Linked DNA regions of Homo sapiens: region 1 is linked to region 2. The links are contacts of gene promoters, found by promoter capture Hi-C in blood cells and fetal thymus (Javierre and others, 2016). All regions are on one chromosome and are shown on one strand. Each heading gives the region's core, a stretch centred on a gene start or on the middle of the fragment in contact. The rest is flanking DNA. Distances are from core to core; before and after follow the strand shown. Region 1 holds the start of BASP1 (brain abundant membrane attached signal protein 1). Region 2 holds the start of MYO10 (myosin X).

Evidence for each region. The method cuts DNA at HindIII sites, captures the fragments that hold promoters and counts their contacts. A CHiCAGO score of 5 or more calls a contact.
Region 1: the fragment with the promoter of BASP1 here is called in contact with the fragment with the promoter of MYO10 in region 2 in 1 of 17 cell types (erythroblasts); the score reaches 5.6 in erythroblasts.

The regions. Positions count from the first base shown.
Region 1 is chr5:17,214,074-17,219,873 of GRCh38, forward strand. It overlaps BASP1 (brain abundant membrane attached signal protein 1), which reads left to right and starts at 3,558. Exons shown (of 2, transcript NM_006317.5): 1 at 3,558-3,737. BASP1-AS1 (BASP1 antisense RNA 1) reads right to left here and starts at 3,349. Exons shown (of 3, transcript NR_027253.1): 1 at 2,004-3,349. RefSeq lists silencers at 3,354-3,833, 4,324-4,643 and an enhancer at 4,678-5,458. The HindIII fragment of the contact is 5,505 bases long and covers 969-5,800 here.
Region 2 is chr5:16,934,922-16,940,392 of GRCh38, forward strand. MYO10 (myosin X) reads right to left here and starts at 1,367. Exons shown (of 41, transcript NM_012334.3): 1 at 867-1,367. The coding sequence starts at 887. The HindIII fragment of the contact is 4,395 bases long and covers 1-2,199 here.

The DNA.
Region 1 (5,800 bases), core at 2,308-4,807, 280 kb after region 2:
GAGATTTTAATCCTCTTTTTACTATTTAAGAGGAAAGGATGGGGAACTGAGAAAGACGCTAGGCCTTGGTGGGTGATGTGGGAGGTGGGGAGAGGGAAGATAAGAGTGAGGTTTTGAGGCTTGATGAGGTCTGTATAATTATCTATTGTAGGTGTCTTAGTTGACACAATAGATATGATTTGAAAAGCTGAAGGCACATGGAAATTTTTGTAAACTGACTAGTAATTTAAATGACAATGAGACCATTATATTGCAAGCAAAGACAAATCTTTTAGAAAAAAATTAGTAATCACGAATAATTTATCTTTTGGATAATGATTTTCATAATGCAGGTTATGCTTCCCTGGAGCAAGTTATGCAGGCAATTAAAAATGACAATGGAATTCAGTTTATAACCGATGAAATCCAGCTTTGTTTGTCAAAAACAAATGCATTCATTCCATTTGGAGAGTAAAACAGTCTTTTTTTCATGAGCATAATGGTGAAAGCTAATTAAATTTATCATAAATTACACCCTTAATATTTGTTCTCAAGATCATTAGTCTATAATGTAAACAGACACATTCACAATAGTTAATGTTAACAGTTTTCTAAAATTCAGAACTTTAAAGGTTTATTCATTTATTCCCTAAGCATCAGTTTAAAAAAATGTTTTAAAGAGCATACACATTAAAAAGTATGATATTAGATGAACAACTAAAAATTAGACTAAAAACATCGCCAAATTGGATTTTATATAGTAATATTGTTACATTGAGAGGTAACATTTTGGCAACCATTTGCTGCAAACCTACAAATTCTGTAAAAGCTTCTAAAGATTAATAGCACTATCAGTCAGTTGCATCATTATCTCATTGAAAATGAATTCTCACCCTCCTTTAAAAAAATTTAAAAAAATGTTTTAAGAGAACAACTAAATCTGATGGAAGACAAAATTAAGGAGACCTGCAGTTCTCCTTGTTGGTGTAAGCTTTTGCCTCCGGTTTCTATGGTAACCCGTGATCTGTATTCCAATCACACCTTTGAAAGGTTTGTTTTCTCCATCATGAAAATTTAGCTGGAAGCACTGAAGGTACTGAACATTAATTTTTATGTTGTCTTTTTTTTTTGGAAAAATTGGAAAAAGAGAATAGAGAAGGAAGATAACACCCACAGGCTTAGACTGCAAATACAATGAGGAAATGTATTTGCTAATTTTTAGATGATTTACATGCCTGGAAGATCACAAGGATAAAAACCCTGAATGCTAAATGAACAAGTAGGCAGCTCCTCTAACAAACTCAGGAAATGTCTTGAGCAGAACATTGCAAATATTCATCTAATTCGATAGGGTAAAAACCTAGAGACTTGCTCATAGAGGTTGAAAGAAAATGTAGCTCAGTGGTTTTCAGCCTGGAGTGATTTTGCCTCCCAGGAGACATTTGGCGATATCTGGGGACATTTTTGGTTGTCACAACTGGTGCTGGTGCTGGTGGTGTGTGTGGAGGGTGGTACTGGCTGCTAGTAGAGGCCAGCAATGAATGCCAGACATCCTACAGTGCATAGGACAGCCTTCCACAACAAAGAAATATCTGGCCCCAAAAGGAGGTGGGAAAACCTGCATCCTCCATTTAGCTTTATAGATGGTGTACTGGTGTGAGGGAAATAAATATTCAAAAGAATAAAATGCTTTAGAAGCAACCTCATTTGTAATTTGCTTCCCTGGTATTTTACTACACTAACTTTTTATTTCACTTTAAATGGCAGAAAGAGAAACAGGAAAAAACAAACAGTTCCCGCTTTTTTCTTACCTTTGGTTTAAATTTGAACATTTCCAGCTGGCATGCATTAATCTAATTTGGTGCTGCCTCCTATGACCTGTAAATGTGTACAGTAGGGTCGTCAAGTGTTTCCACTGCAAAATCGCTAGTGCAGTTGAGTAAATATTGCCACTTTGCTTAATTCAAATATGTACGTTAAAGTTACGATAAGTTAATTTTCCTGTTAAGTGAAAATGCACTTACCTTTACCCAGTTGAATACAGATGTACTTGCCTTTGACGTCTGCCTCCCTAAGTATGGTTACAGTTTGTCACTCCGGTTCTGGAGGGCCACCCTGTCCCTGAATTCACGCCCAGGTCCTGAGGGCAGAACCATCCTGAGGACAACCTGCAGCTCCATCGATTTTTTCTTGGCTGGGACGCAGGCGAGCATGAAAGCGATCCAAACACAGCCAGAGGGCGCCAAAATGCCGCAAATAAAAGTTCCAAAGGCGTCAACTGGCTTTTGCGGGAAGGTAAAATTGGCTTTTGTGTAATCAAAGAGCTACCGTTGTCAACGATGTCACGTTACGTTATTTTTGTATGTCCCTCTTGCCAACAGGTAAGCAAAGTGAACGCATCTTCCTACCCCGGTGGCTATTCTGTGTCCCGGTGCTAAACCAAGTGTCCGCCCCCTTAGGGCACCCGGACAAGCCGCGGTTGGCCCTAGCTTTGACTCGAGCGCTCGCAAGCAGCAGCGTGCGGGCTGCCTCGGCCAACCCCGTCTTCTCAATATTGGTGGCCTCCATTAAAGCACAGACATCAAAAACATCGACGGCCCCTTTCCCCTCTTCTCTTCCCTCCTTCCTCTCCCAAGTTCCGAGAGCATCCTCCGAGGGGCGACGTCTCTCGCCCCACCAGCTGGACCTCGGCGACCGCGCCTCCCCCGAAGCTGCAGCCTTCGGGGCTGAGCCCCGCGGGTGCGGGTGCAGGTGCGGAGCCGCCCAAGGTGCGCAACTCGTTTGCAGCGGCGCAGCCCAGACGCGCCTGCAGCTGGGGCTCACCCCAACCTCGCTGCCAGCCGAGGTAGCGGAATCGTAGTCGACGTCGGGAGCGGGCTGGACTGGGGTCTGAGAAGGGTAGCTGGTGCCAGGGGGTGTCATTCATCACCTCGAGGCAGCTCCCTAAGTCTGAGCGAGAGCCCGAGCACTTCTTATCCAACGGTTCCAAATAAATGAGGGGGAGAGAGAGAGAGAGAGTGAGAGAGAGAGAGAGAGAGAGAGAGTGAGTGAGAGAGTGAGAGAGTGGGAGAAGTCCACGGACAGCCCAGGCGGCGCGGCGGGGGAAGGGGGACGCAGGAATGGAGGAGAGGAGAGGGGAGGCGGAGGGGGGATCTGAATAGAGGGCATTTAGGAAACGTTGGCGGGGCACAGAGTTGGGAGGTGGGGGGAAGGGAGGAACCAGGATGGCGGATAGGAGAGAAATGGGGGTGACTGTGCTGGAGGGGAGGGGAGGTGGGGGCCCAGAGCTGGGGGGAGTCAAGGGGAGGCGGGCGTGTCCAGGCTGGAGGGGAGAGGGGAGGGTCTGCGCCGGAGGAGGGGAGGGGAGCAGAGGGAGTGCAGGGGGTGGGGAGATGGAGCTGGAGGGGGTGGAGGGGAGACGGGCGGGGCGCCGGGCTGGAGGGAGGGGAGAGAGGCGGGCGGGGAGCGCGGGAGGAGGGAGGCTGGGCGGGCGGACGCGCGGGGGGAGGGCACTGGGCAGGAAGGGGAGGGGGAGCGAGCGCGAGAAATGCAGAGGCTGCAGCGGCGGCGGCGGCGGCAGTAGCGGCAGCGGCGACGACGGCGGCGGCAGCGCTCCAACTGGCTCCTCGCTCCGGGCTCCGCCGTCGAGCCGGGAGAGAGCCTCCGCCAGCGGCCAGGCACCAGCCAGACGACGCCAGCGACCCCGGCCTCTCGGCGGCACCGCGCTAACTCAGGGGCTGCATAGGCACCCAGAGCCGGTAAGGAGGCGCGCCCGGTGGCCCCGCGCCGCCGCGGACCCGGGGGCCTCCGTCCCCCACCGCGCCGCGCCCCGCCCCGCAGCCCCCGGGCTCTCCCTTCATGCAGCGGGCAGCAGGGATGTGGGCCCGGATTGGACGGCAAGGGCCTGGGGTCCCTCTGTGAGGGCTCCGTCGCACTTCGGGGATCCCGGGTGATGGGGGGCCCAGAAGTGGGAGGCTTCAGCCGCTCGCATGGTGGAGGGGTGAGGGGGGCGGCGAGGTTGGTAAACGGAGCTGGGGGGAGGGGGCTGTCGGGGAGAGGAGCTGCGGGTGACGGGAGGAATTGCCGAATGCGAAACCCCCTCAGTGCGTTGAGTCCCGGGGAGACGGTTCTGTGGGCTGAAGGGAGCGCTTCCGTCATCGGAGCCCTTACCAGCCTGGGAGAAAGCGCTCGGGGCGAGGGGCGCAGCAGCCAAAGATGGAGGGTGGGGGTGGGGTGGGGCGGGAGTCCGGGGAGAAAGAAGATGGGGAATCTGGCCCGATCAGAAGGAAGTGGGTGGCTTTTTGCTTTGGCAAACGGGTTTTCTCGACCCATGGGACTCCTGGATCTTGGTTCTGGGGCCAAGGAATACGAGGTTCACACGGCGACGTGCACTCAGAAGCACCTCCCGAGCAGATCGGAGCCCCAGCCTCGTCAGTGGCGGAATTGCCTTCCTACGAACCCGTGGGCTGCCTCGGAGCAGTTTGTTTTTTCGAGCCTTTGGTTCCAAGAATGCGCCAGGCGCCTCCGCCCTGGGTCCCGGCCCCGGCCCGGGCCCGGGGGGTGTGGGCTTGAACCTGACAGCGCGCGGCCCTAACTGGGCTCAGCCCCGCTGGGAGCGTAGGGTTGGGGTTGAGCAGCTTTTGCCCAAAGCGCTAAAGCTGAAACCCGGCGCCCGGTTCCTGCTCCCCCCGCCCCCGTCCCCCCTCCATTTCCAGAAAAATAAAAATTGCGGAATCCTGGATCCGATCGCACGCACAATGCGCGGCTGCAAACCGCATTCTTTTCATGAATATTCATCGAACGCTTGGCCAGGCTCCTTATCTGCGTCCCCAGAGACATTTCCGCCTTGAAACGAACTCGGTGGACAGCCCTTGCCCATGTAATTCTCACTCTGCTGAAATTAGCACAGCACACATGGGTGCATTTTTTAGGACCTTGTACAGGTTGACAACACCTCTGTCTCCCCCGCGGCCACTCGCACTGTGGGGCGGGCTAAAACCCAACACTAGCGTCGAAATGGCCTTCTGCTATAGGGTTGTGGACCGACCCCCCACCCCCACCTCCCGGGATTACAGCCCGGGCCAACAGACCCCCAGTATACTGCAGGCAAAATGAATGAATCGGGACTGTAATTACCTATTCCTTTGTCTTGGCCTCGCGCATGCGCCGGAGAGCAGGGTGTGGAGGGCCCGGCAGCCCCATCCCATCTCCATCATCCAGCCACCCACTCCCCTCCCGAGCCGAGGAACAAAGGCGTTTGCCCTAAATGTTGCGGGAAACCCTTGGACACCAATGACAGTTTTTCCCGCCTGTGTGTGTGTTTCTTCTTTTCCAGGCTGTCTCTCATCTTTTGCTTTCTTGCTGATTTCAATTGACCAAAATTAAGATTTGCCTTGATGAGGATGAAGGCAAATTGTGGATTAAATATTTTGTACCCGCACACTGTTATTTTCCTTTCTAGTACTGTTCATTGTTCTTTTTCCTGTAACATATCTTACTGCAGTGAGGGTGGCTTTCTTAATTTGCATCAATTAACCGTTTGACAGATCTTTTTTGGTCATTTGATTAAGGGAAGGTGGCCTCAAAACTGTCAGTGGGCGTTGCCTCCAGTGACACCACCTGGGGAAAATTAAGACATCTTGGCGTTTATTCGAACAAGATGGCCTACAAAAACCGGAGAGAAGAAAACGATTACCTTGTCGGGATCCTAACCCTTTCTGTTTTCTCTGGACTCCGAACTCATTGTTTCATTAAGGATTCCAAAAGGCGAATGGCGTCCAGATGGAAATCTGATGGGGGCAGAAAGAAGGCAGTCGTTGGG
Region 2 (5,471 bases), core at 117-2,616:
ATCAGACTCTCTCAAGTCAACTAAGTTTACTTTGAGCCACTTCAAACCTCAAACTTAAACAGAATTTATTAAATAAACACAACCAAGAAAGGAAAGGGAGCCAAGAAACCACAGTAAGTCTCGATCCCAAAGGGGGAAAAAGGGTTCTCAAGTTAAGTTTCAGTGTCCCACCCTCAACGACCCTAAAGAGGGCATCCGTTTCATCTATTAAAATAGCCACTGTTTGCCCTAAACGAATTTTCTTTACATTCGAATTCAAAATCTGCATGGACACTCTACACAAATACATGATCATTTGATCCCAGGGTCTGGAGTTATCCCAAGCCTTAAAAGAGCACTTCTCGGCGAGCAAAGTAACCGATTAAACCCTTGCCTCTCCTTCTCACACTTCATTAAGCCGTCTCCTCTGGAAGTGTTTGAACCCCTGCACAGGAAGCCCGCACGTTTTGCAAAGGAAATACCAGACAAGACCTTTCTTGGAGAAAGGCAGGTCCCCGCTGAACATTTTATTGGGCTTCCTGCACCCGGGCAGTCGAGCGGGCGGATCGCCCCGCCCGCGCCCCGGCGCGCGCCGCCTCACCTGGCGCGGGTGTCCCAGGGCGCCCCGAGAGCCAGCCACCCACGCAAACGGAAACGCACCTTCGCTACCTCCCGGAGCAAAATGCGAGCGCGGGACAGGACGAAACAAAACCTGCCCGGGCTTACTCATCAGAGACTCCGCGGGGGGATGGGGGGTGATTTCAGGAGACTCCCAGAAAGTTGCGCCTTCCAGGGCTTAGGAAAAAGTACCCAGGGCGCGCGGCGTGGTGGGCAGACGCCTCTCTCCCTGGGCTCCGGAGGCCAGGTCGGACTGGGAGCGCACTTACCTCGGTGAAGAAGTTATCCATTGTTCCAGCGCAGTCCCGGACTCGCCGAGTGCCGCTCCGACTCGCGGAAGTCAGCGCCGCCGCGGGTCCGGGGAAACCATGCGTGTCACGGCGCCACTCCCGAGGACGCGCGCCCGCGGGGCTCCCCTGCTGCCATCGCCCGGTCCCTTCTTGTCCTTCTCACCTTTTGTTCGCCCAAACCCAAGTCCCTAACTCGCCCGTCCCGACGGCAGCCTTTGTCTCTTCTTCCTCCAAGTTCCTCACTACTGGGCGCAGCGCTCGCAAGCGGAGAACAGCTGGTGGCACATTCTTCCCCCAGGCGGGGGAAGGCGGCGGGGTGCTGGCGAGCGCGGCCCCCTCCCTCTGCGCTCCGGCCGGGGGCCCTCGGGGCGGGCAGGAGGACAGCGGGCCGCAAAGTGAGCAGGAGCCGCGATCCCCGCGCGAGCGCTTGGAGGTGAGCAGTCCCGCGCCGCGGCTCAGCCAGCTCTCGCCCGCGGGACTACAGCCCAGCGACCTCGCCCCGCCCTCCCGCAGCCGGCCCCGCCCTCCCGCAGCCGGCCCCGCCCTCCCGCTCGCGGCCCCGCCCCCAGGAGCTTGGCCCTCCGCCAACCACACCGTCTGGCCCCGCCCGGGCGGAGCGCCCCGCCCCCTTCCCGACCAGGCCCCGCCCACTCTAAGCCCGAAGCAGCCGCAGGCTCGTTAGCGGACCCGGGAGGGGGCCGCGTGTTTCCCCAGGTCTTCCCACGTAGGCGTGGGGAGGGGATTTAACTCTTCCCTCTGCAGAGAGAGACTAAACAATCACTTAGAGGGGAGGAGAAGGGACTGGGGGCTTCTGTGCCTTTCATGTTTAGCAGACCCGGGAACCGGCTCAACACGGATCTCATTAATGCAGCCCGGTAGACTAGCAATCTCGGGAAGGAAGCGCGGTCAGCGGAGCTGCCGGGGCTGCGGGGCCAGATCAAAGCGGAAGACGGAGGCTAATCAGAATTTCTGGAAGCTGCATTCCCGTGTTGACTTTCTGTCCTGCAGTCGGGTTTGCTTAAGACGTTTGCGTAACAGCGGGGAAATGTAGTTTTGAAACTGGAAGGGGACGTGGCCAATATCACCTTTAAAAATGTAACCCTTTTCTAGACCTCAAGGAAGCAGAGATGGCAGATGGCACTGAGATGGACGAATGATCAAACCCACCTGGCACTGAGTCCCGTTTCCCCTAGGGCAGTTCTTTTAACTTTATGCTGTGCGAGGGTCACCTGGGAACCTTGTTAGAACGCAGGCTGGAACAATCTGCTTTCCAGGTGCCCCTCAGGTGCTACCTGGTCCTGTGCTGAACGAAAGCTTGTAACAAGTAGAGAAATTAAGAGTAAACGTTTGTAGCAATTTAATAATGCCACGACATCCAAGCACATGATCAGTGGACTCTTTGAACCGAGTATAAACCAGTTTGGGTGTTGTCAGACTCACGTGGTGAGTCACACCTGGCGCCGCAGTGTATTGGTACCTGGCCGACTGGGAACAAAAATGGCTGGTTCTTCAGCACAAAAGATTTGAGATGCTCTCTCCAGGGAATTTGCCAACTGCTACTCAACCTTTAAAACTCAGCTCACAAAGTCACACCTTCCAGGGGAAGGAACCCTTCCCAAAGATGCTACTCCACTCACCCCACCCAAGCTCCCCGTAACCACTGGGCTAGATGCCCACTCTAGGATTTATTCCTAAGACTGTTGGGGAAGGACTGTGCTTTAAGATGAGTATCCCCAGGCTGTCTCACAGCATGAATGAATGAATGAAACATCCTTCTGTAATCCTTATGGGGAAAGTCAAGCATGTTTGTAACTTATCCCAGTCCAGTTCTTCACCATTAATATCATTGCTCCCACCTCACTTCCCTTTAGAAAGAGTCAAGGTGTAAATTAGTTAATGATATTGTGCAATGTTGTTCTGTTTCACAGGTTTACACGCTTAAGGCGCTGAGCCATTAAAGCTTGTGTCCAAGGTCGCAAGGAAAGTGAAGATGGAGTCAGGATAAATACCAACAATCCCAGTGCTTAGTCAAATGGGTCCTGCAACCACTGGTGTTCAGATACTGGAGCAGAACAATTACAGTCATTATGGTATTAATCTGCACACAACATCTCTGCCAGAGAAATTACCAGGGAGATTGTTGAAGTGAGTGTGTGGGTGTGACGTGGTTCCCAGCATCAGCCCAGCCACTGATACGTTGGGCAACCTCGCCATGTCATTTCAAAAGTCACTTTCCATATCGGCTCATCAGTTATAACAAATGTACCACACTAATGCAACATGTTAATAATAGGGGCAAGTGAGGGTGAGGGGCTGGGAGGGGTCTATGGACACTCTCTGTACTTTCTGGCCAATTTTTATGTAAGCCTAAAACTGTTTTTTTAAAGTCTACTAATCTTTTAAAGGTGATTTTCCTGCCAATTATGAAGATATCGTTAATAATTGCCCCCAATTTGACTCACGTAAAGAATGGTGAGCCAGATCCAATATATAAAGTTTAGATTTTACTGAATCATTTTATTTCTTCAAAAAGCTTACATCATCAGTTAACAGGGTAAGAAAGTTAAAAAAAAAAACTTACATCAATGTTTTATCAATGTTGATCCCTAGATCACCTTATCAGTTGCTAAAAAGAAAAAAAAACTGACTCCAAATCTCTGTGGCAAATTGATTTCCTAAGAATTTGCATTTTTTATTTCTTTACCTGTGGATTATATTGAAAGAATTTGCATTTTAATAAGCACCCCGATAACCAGTTCAGAGCTTGGGAATCGCCACTTTATCAGAATTCATCAGCTTTTCTATATATCCCCATATTCTCAAAAAGGTGTAAGATAAGCTGTGGCAGCGAAACTCTTACTTGCTGAACAGCAAAATGCATGTTCTAAATAAGATATCTAACCCTCAAGTATCTGGGGTTGAATCAGTTGTTAAAAAGCAGCGTGTTAAATTTATAAGGGCTTTGACAGGATTGGACAGAGACTGGGAAGCATTTTAAATCAATAGATTTCTAAGAATATCTAGTCTTATTACCATTTCTTAAAATTTGAGTGCTTCCTCTGAGAGAGTTGTGCTAACCACTGGACAAAGCAGTTTAGACCAAATCTATTAAACCCTGCCCTCTGAGAAGCGACAGAGGCACAAGAATGGTAATAATAGAAGGATGAGTGTGTTTCCATGAGGCAAAGGTCTGTCTCAACTCTCTGTCCTACCTGTCTTTCAAATAAACCAGGCTAACAGAGTATGACATTTTCAAAATAAAACACCCCCAAAAGCTCAAGTTAAGTTATCTTATTTAGTGGCATACATTAATCTACAATCAACAAAATTTTAATACTGATTGGATCATTTCCCCACTGAAAGAGAGAGTTGCATATGTATATTTGTGAGTTAAGTAATAACAATCTTCTGTTTTTGTTCTCCACCAACAGTTTGTTCGTTTTTAGTTGAAACGGGTTGTCTCATTTCCTTTGTGAATTCAAACTGAGTTCCTTTTGTTGTTGCTGCTGCTGCCATTCCTTGTCTTGATGTGTCTTGGGGCGTAGAGTCTTTTCCATTATCTTTTTTTTTTATTAAACACTCACCCCTTAATTGCCCCTGTTAGAATAATGGCTTAATTACTAGTTATAGAAAGGGAAAGTTCTCAAAGTTTCTTTCACACAAATTAGAAGTTAATAACTGACAATTCTAAAGTCCTTTCATGCTTAACTAAACAGCAGTCCATCCTTTGGGCTCACTTACCCTCTTGGATGTTTAAAACATCAAATGTTTTTACCTTCTCAAACAAAAGGGAATTTTTTTAATGTGATTTAAATTTTTACACAAGTGTTTCTTTTATTTCTCATACCTTAGCATTCAGAAATCCTCAAGGGAATTTTTTTCTGCTGAAACTGAAAACAATTGTAGGTGGTTTCAATAGAATAAATTTGGGAGAAAATACCTGAAATGTTTCACATTGTAATAGAAGTAAGTACAGAAGAATAAACATAGAACTAAAATGGGGAGAAGACACTGGAAGAACTCATTTCTGCCAGCGGTTGTATTTCTCTACAAGATGAGCTAGGGCAAGGATGTCATTCACCTCATTAGAGAGCATGTGATGGACAGTTAATTCTAACTAAATCCCCATCACTTCAAACTACAGCAAGAATGCCTCCTACAGCTGATAGCCTACAAAAATCATGGAGTGTTAGTTTCACAAATTAATCAGTTTTCATGTTTGGGGCTGGTCCTGTTGCGTATAATAAAGAAAAAGTACAAAAATCCCTGAAACCCTGAAAAGCTGCCTAATGATTAAGCCCGCTCGGAGCTATGTTTGACATCTCGCTTTCTCTCTTGATGTTTTTGTGTCTTTATGACCCTCTCTCTTCCATTACTCCAGGGTGGCTCAGAGACTGACTGCAAAGTTTATCATCTCTCTACCATTATTGTTAATCACAACATGTTTGCCACTTCCAAACCTTGTGTCCTCACTTATTCCTCTTGCTTGCATCTTCAGCCTTTCCCACTCAGTATCCAAGCCAATAAACAAGATCGTGTCGGCTCTATTTGAAAACAGCTGCTCGTTAACCCAATTGCTCTCTG